2 separate regions of the Homo sapiens genome follow, and region 2 is linked to region 1. The links are contacts of gene promoters, found by promoter capture Hi-C in human tissues and cell types (Jung and others, 2019). All regions are on one chromosome and are shown on one strand. Each heading gives the region's core, a stretch centred on a gene start or on the middle of the fragment in contact. The rest is flanking DNA. Distances are from core to core; before and after follow the strand shown.

Evidence for each region. Contacts are between HindIII fragments. The study calls those that stand out against the background at their distance.
Region 2: a contact is called between a fragment that was not itself captured here and the fragment with the promoter of PHLDB3 in region 1, in 1 of the 25 tissues and cell types used here (spleen).

The regions. Positions count from the first base shown.
Region 1 is chr19:43,503,318-43,506,283 of GRCh38, forward strand. It overlaps PHLDB3 (pleckstrin homology like domain family B member 3), which reads right to left and starts at 1,429. Exons shown (of 16, transcript NM_198850.4): 1 at 1,272-1,429; 2 at 589-815. The coding sequence starts at 801. RefSeq lists an enhancer at 565-1,087 and silencers at 716-965, 1,566-1,625. The HindIII fragment of the contact is 32,375 bases long and covers 1-2,966 here.
Region 2 is chr19:43,651,290-43,654,297 of GRCh38, forward strand. PLAUR (plasminogen activator, urokinase receptor) reads right to left here. Exons shown (of 7, transcript NM_002659.4): 6 at 936-1,082. Among named protein-coding and RNA genes, the nearest start is that of CADM4, 13 kb to the left of the region's middle. The HindIII fragment of the contact is 8,598 bases long and covers 1-3,008 here.

The DNA.
Region 1 (2,966 bases), core at 179-2,678:
TTTTTAGAGATAGGTTCTGCTTTGTCCCAGGCTGGGGTGCAGTGGCGCAGTCATAGTTCACCGCAGCCTACAACTCCTGGGCTCAAGCGATCCTCCTGCCTCAGCCTCCCGAGTAGCTGGGATTACAGGCACGCGGCACTGCGCTTGGACAATTTTTGTATTTTTTTTTTCTCTAGAGACAGGGATTTGCTATGTTGCCCAGACTTGTCTCGAACTCCTGGGCTTAAGCAATCCTCCCCTCGGCCTCCCCAAGTGCTGGGATTACAGGCGTGAGCCACCTATCTGGTTCCTCTATACTAGTCTCTCTGTCTCTGTCGCCCGTTTGGGTCTATCTCCGTTCTTGGGGCCTCCCCGTGGCTCTATCTGGTTTCTGTCTCTGTATCTGGTTTCTGTCTGTCTGTGCCTCTGCCTCTCTGGCTCCGTGTCCTGGTGTATCTCTCTCTCAGTAGTCTCTGCTATCACTCGGTCTCTCTCCCTGTCTCCGGGTCTCTGTCTTTCTGGTTTCCCTCTACCTGTCTACCTGTCTGGCCACCTGTTTGGGTCCCCGTCGGTCCAAGCCCCCCGCGCTGTCGCCCTCGGGCCCCTCACCGCGTCGCGGCTGCTCTCAGTGCTGCTGCCTTCTCCCACTTCTTCTTCCTCTGCCTGCTGCTCAGCTCCCCCGCGGCTCGAAGGTTCCGCCAGGACTTCGGATGCCTCCTGTTCCCGGGACTCCTCGGGATGGCCCTGGGGCTGGACCTCCACGTCGCATTCCGGGACCAGCGGCGGCGGGGTCCCCTCCTCGGGGCTGCTTCGCGTCCCCATGGCCGCTGGGACTCCTGCGGGGTGGGCGGGACCAGAAGCTCCGGGGGCGGGGCCTAGGACGGCTGAGCGCCGCTCGCGTCTGCTCCGGGGCGCGGAGACCCCCCCCCAAGGAGGCGGGGCCTAAGAGTTCAAAGGATGGAACTGAGCGTTACGGAGGCGTGTCCTGAAGTTTCCAGAGGCGGGGCTTGATGGCTCCAAGGCGACACGCCACCGGAGACGGGACCGGAATTTGAGTCCGGGTCGTAGCACGCCCCCTACTGACCTCTTCGACCCCGCCTCCCCTCCCTCATCTCTAGGTGTCAGGCCTTGTACCCTCCCAGCAGCCCCCTACAATCTCTTGGATTCGCTTAGAGCGACCCATCTTCTCCCTCCGAGACTCAGCAGTTCGGCTCCCGCCCCATCCTTCCCGGAGCCCCGTAGTCTTAGTCCCGACCCCACTGTGCAGGGCAACCGTGCCCACGCCGCCTCACCCAGGGATCCAGGAGTCGGGGCTCTCCTTCTCTGAACAAGCCAGGAGTCGGAGTCCTTGAGATTCCGAAGTCCAACTGCCACCTCCCCACAGCCTCGGCCCCCTCACGAGCTCAGGCTTCGGCGCGCTCCGCTCTGCGCGCTGGGCACGGCCGCTTCTGCCTATGAGACAGGTGGCAGGGGAAGAGGGAGGAGAGAGGCCGCCCGGTCCCCCTCCCCAGCAGCCCGGAAGTGGAGGGGGGACAACAGGTCCAACAGCTCCCGAGGGAGGAGGGAGCCACGGGCTTGCCCCACCCGTGGCCTCGGCATCCGGCCATCCCGGCCCCACCGGCCCCGGCCCGGCCCCACCCTCGTGGAACTCAGCATCGCGACCTCCCAGTCTCCCTCGAGCCCCTCATTCCTGCCCCCCTGGAGGAGTCTTGGCCACCTCTGTATGGGAGCCTCTCTAATGTCCAGACCTTGGGAGTTCAGAAAGGAAGGCAGGAATGGAGATGGGGACGTCTCCCCTCTAATGAGCCCTTCAGAAGGGCCCTGACCGGTTTGGGGAGCTGGACAAGGGGAAGGGGTGCCCTGAACTGAGTCAGACACCTGCCCAGAGACTGAGGGAAGTGTACCGCCACCCCCCCACAACTTTGCTATGGGGTGGAGGGCAGAGGTTAAAGGTCTCAGCCAGACCCTTTCCTCTCTGGGCGAAAACAGGAAAATGAAAACAGGAAAATAACTGGTATATGAAAAGGGATGATTAGAAGTCAAGAGCTGTGTGAAACACTTTATACCCAGTCATTTAATTTCACCCTCAAAGCTGTCCAGCGAGAAAGTGATTACTACCTCCATTTCTTTTTTTTTAGTAGAGACTGGGTTTCTCCAGGTTGCCCAGGCTGATCTTGAACTCCTGGGCTCAAACAACCTGCCTGCCTCAGCCTCCCAAAGTGTTGAGATTACAGGCGTGAGCCACCGCTCCTGGCCTACTATCTCCATTTTACACTTGGGGATACAAGCTGAGGAGGACAAATGCACCCAAGGTTGGCTGGGCACAGAGGCTCAGGCCTGTAATCCCAGCACTTTGGGAAGCCGAGGCAGGTGGATTGCTTGAGATCAGGAGTTCAAGGCCAGCCTGGGCAACATGGAGAAACCCCATCTCTACTAAAAATACAAAAATTATGCCAGGCGTGGTGGCACACACCTGTCATCTCAGCTACTCCAGAGGCTGAGGCAGGAGGATATCTCGAGCCCAGGAGGTCGAGGCTGCAGTGAGTCTTGAATGTGCCACTGCACTCCAGCCTGGGCGACAGAGTAAGACCCCATCTCAGAAAAAAAAAAAAAAATGTAGCCAACATCTACACATGTTGTAAGTGGTAAAATGCAGGCTTCATTCTCTCAAAAGTCCATGTTCTTAACCATTGCGTATACTGTCACTACAAGCCAGGAAGTACCCAAAAGATCATTCTAAATGATAGTAACTTTAATGGTGAACACTGATAGGCCATGTGCCAGGCACTCACACACATTGACTCATCAGAGCATCACAACACCCCATTATTATTCCTTCCATTTTAGAGATAAGAAAACTGAGGCCTAGAGAAGTGAAGTAACTTACCCCAGGGCTAAGTGGGAAGTGGCTCAAAAGCAAGCCGGTGTTCTAATCCAAGGTGATGAGAAGACCTGCCCCAGATAGCTGTGTTTGTTTTTGATCTTGT
Region 2 (3,008 bases), core at 468-2,967, 150 kb after region 1:
TGGTCTTGAACTCCCGACCTCAGGTGATCTACCCACCTCGGCCTCCCAAAGTGCTAGGATTACAGGCGTGAGCCACCACTCCTGGTTCTCAGTTTTAATTTTAATGTGGCATTTATCTATAGAAATCACTGATATAAACAATAAAGAGTTTTTTTTTTTTTTTGAGACAAAGTCTCCCTCTGTCATCCAGGCTGGAGTGCAGTGGGGTGATCCCCACTCACTGCAACCTCCTCCTCCTGGGTTCAAGTGATTCTCGTGCCTCAGCCCCCTGAGTAGCTGGGGTTATAGGTGCACGCCACCACACCCAGCTAATTTTTGTAATTTTTTGTAGAGACAGGGTTTCACCATGGTGGCCAGGCTTGCTCTCATACTCCTGACCTCAAGTGGTTCTCCTCCTCACCCTCCCAAGGTGTTGCAATTACAGGCGTGAGCCACCACACCTGGCCAAAAATAATTTTTAAAAGCATGAAGAAGTTGAGACCAAAAAGTTTGAGAACCACTGGAATACAGAGACCTTTCCAGGACACCACAGGATGAAAGCCCAAGATGTCTTCAGCAAATCCCCACAACCCACGAGAAATCCACCAAAGAATTCCATTTTTCTTTTTGTAGAGATGGGGGTCTTGCTATGTTGCCCAGGCTGGTCTCAAACTCCTGGCCTCAAGAGATCCTCCGGCCTCAGCCTCCCAAAGTGCTGAGAGTACAAGCTTCAGCCACCGCACCCAGCCGGAATTCCACTTTTCCATGGCAAAAATGTCCACATCCTGATGGACAAGTCCTAATTCCTTACAATAATATTCACCCACCTGAAGGAAATCCCACCTTTTCCACAGGGAGACCCACCACAGTTAACTCCAGCTTAACTGGAAGTCAATCTCTTGCGGAACTCTCCACCCCCAATAAGTGTTCCCTCCCAGCCTCGGAGAGGGCCTCACCGTGAGTGCCGGTGGCTACCAGACATTGATTCATGGGGCCTCGGCAGTCAATGAGGAAAGTCTCTTCAGAGGAGCATCCATGGGTGCTGTTCCCCTTGCAGCTGTAACACTGGCGGCCATTCTGCGGCAGATTTTCAAGCTCCAGGACTTAGGAGAAGACCAGAGACACAGAGACCAAGAAAATTAGTGCTTGGATCTCCACTTCCTTGAATGACCTCCCCAGGACTTCCACTCCGAGCCAGAGATGTCATGGAGCCACCTTGTGGTCAGGCGTCTGAATGGCATTTGGAGGGGGATGGTTTTCGAGGGCTTGAGAGAAACCCCAACTTTCAACTCCCCATGAGTCCCATTTCTGGCCAGGCACCGTGCTGGGTGCTGGGTAAAACTATGTAAGATGAAACTGTCCTTGCTCTCACAAAAGTTACAACTTATTTATTTATTTTTGATACAGGGTCTCAGTTTGTTGCCCAGGCTGGAGTGCAGTGGCGCAATTGTAGCTCACTGCAGCCTCGACCACCCCGGCTCAAGAGATTCTTCCACATCAGCCTCCTGAGTAGCTGGGACTACAGGCGTGCACCACCATGCCTAGCCAATTTTTCTGTTTTTTGTAGAGATGGGGTTTTGACACATTACTCAGGCTGGTCTCAAACTCCTGGGATCAAGCAATCTGCCTGCCTCAGCCTCCCAATGTTCTCGGAGTACAGGTGTGAGCCACTGTACCTGGCCAGAACTTACAAGTTATTACTATTATTATTACTAAAAAATTTTTTTTGAGACGGAGTCTTGCTATGTTGCCTAGGCTTGTCTCAAACTCCTGGCCTCAGGCGACCCTCCCGCCTCCGCCTCCAAAAGTGCTGGGATTACAGGTGTGAGCCACTGTGCCCAGCCAGAATTTACAATTTAGAGCTACACTACCCAATCTGGTAGCCACTGGCCACATGTGGTTGTTTACATTTAAATAAATTAATATTAAATCGAATCTTAAAATTCAGTTCACATTTCAAGTGCTCACTGACCACATACAGTGGTGGCTGTAATATTGGACAGGACAGATAGGGAACATTTCTATCTGTTGACAGTGCTGGGTAATAGAGACAGGGATCTAGATTACACTGGAGGGGAGGGACAGTGAAAGCATCCCTGAAGATGATACATTAAAGCTGAGGCCTAATGGATGAGAAGTTGCCAGCAGGGTGAACTCTTGGGGAAGATGTGTTCTAAGGGAGGATATTCATCTGCAAGGGCCATGAGACCAGATGGGCTTTGGTGATTATAGAAACCAAATGAACGTCAGCACAGCGGCTCATGCCTGTAATCCCAGCACTTTGGGAGGCCGAGGCAGGAGAATCGCTTGAACCTGGGAGGCGGAGGTTGCAGTGAGCCAAGATCACGCCACTGCCCTCCAGCCTGGCTGACAGAGCGAGACTCCATCTAAAAAAAGAAAGAAAGGAAGAAAGAAAGAAACTAAATGAAGGCCAGGTGCAGCGGCTCATGCCTGTAATCCCAGCACTTTGGGAGGTCAAGGCAGAAGGATTGCTTGAGCCTGGGAGTTTGATACCAGCCCCGGCAACATAGTGAGACCCCATCTCTACAAAAGTTTTAAAAATTTAGCTGGGTGCGGCCGGGCGTGGTGGCTCACGCCTGTAATCCCAGCACTTTGGGAGGCTGAGTCAGGCGGATCATGAGGTCAGGAGATCGAGATCATCCTGGCTAACACAGTGAAACCCTGTCTCTACTAAAAATACAAAAATTAGCCAGGCATGGTGGTGGGTGCCTGTAGTCCCAGCCACTCGGGAGGCTGAGGCAGGGGAATGGCGTGAACCCGGGAGGCGGAGCTTGCAGTGAGCCAAGATCGCGCCACTGCACTCCAGCCTGGGCAACAGCGCAAGACTCCATCTCAGAAAAAAAAAAAAAATGTAGCTGGGTGCAATGATGCGCATCTGTAGTCCCAGCTACTTGGGAAGCTGAGGTGGGAGGATCACTGGAGCCCAGGAGTTTGAGGTGGCAGTGAGCCGTGATTGTGCCACTGCACCCCAGCCTGGGTGGCAGAGCAAGACCCTATGTCTAAAGAAA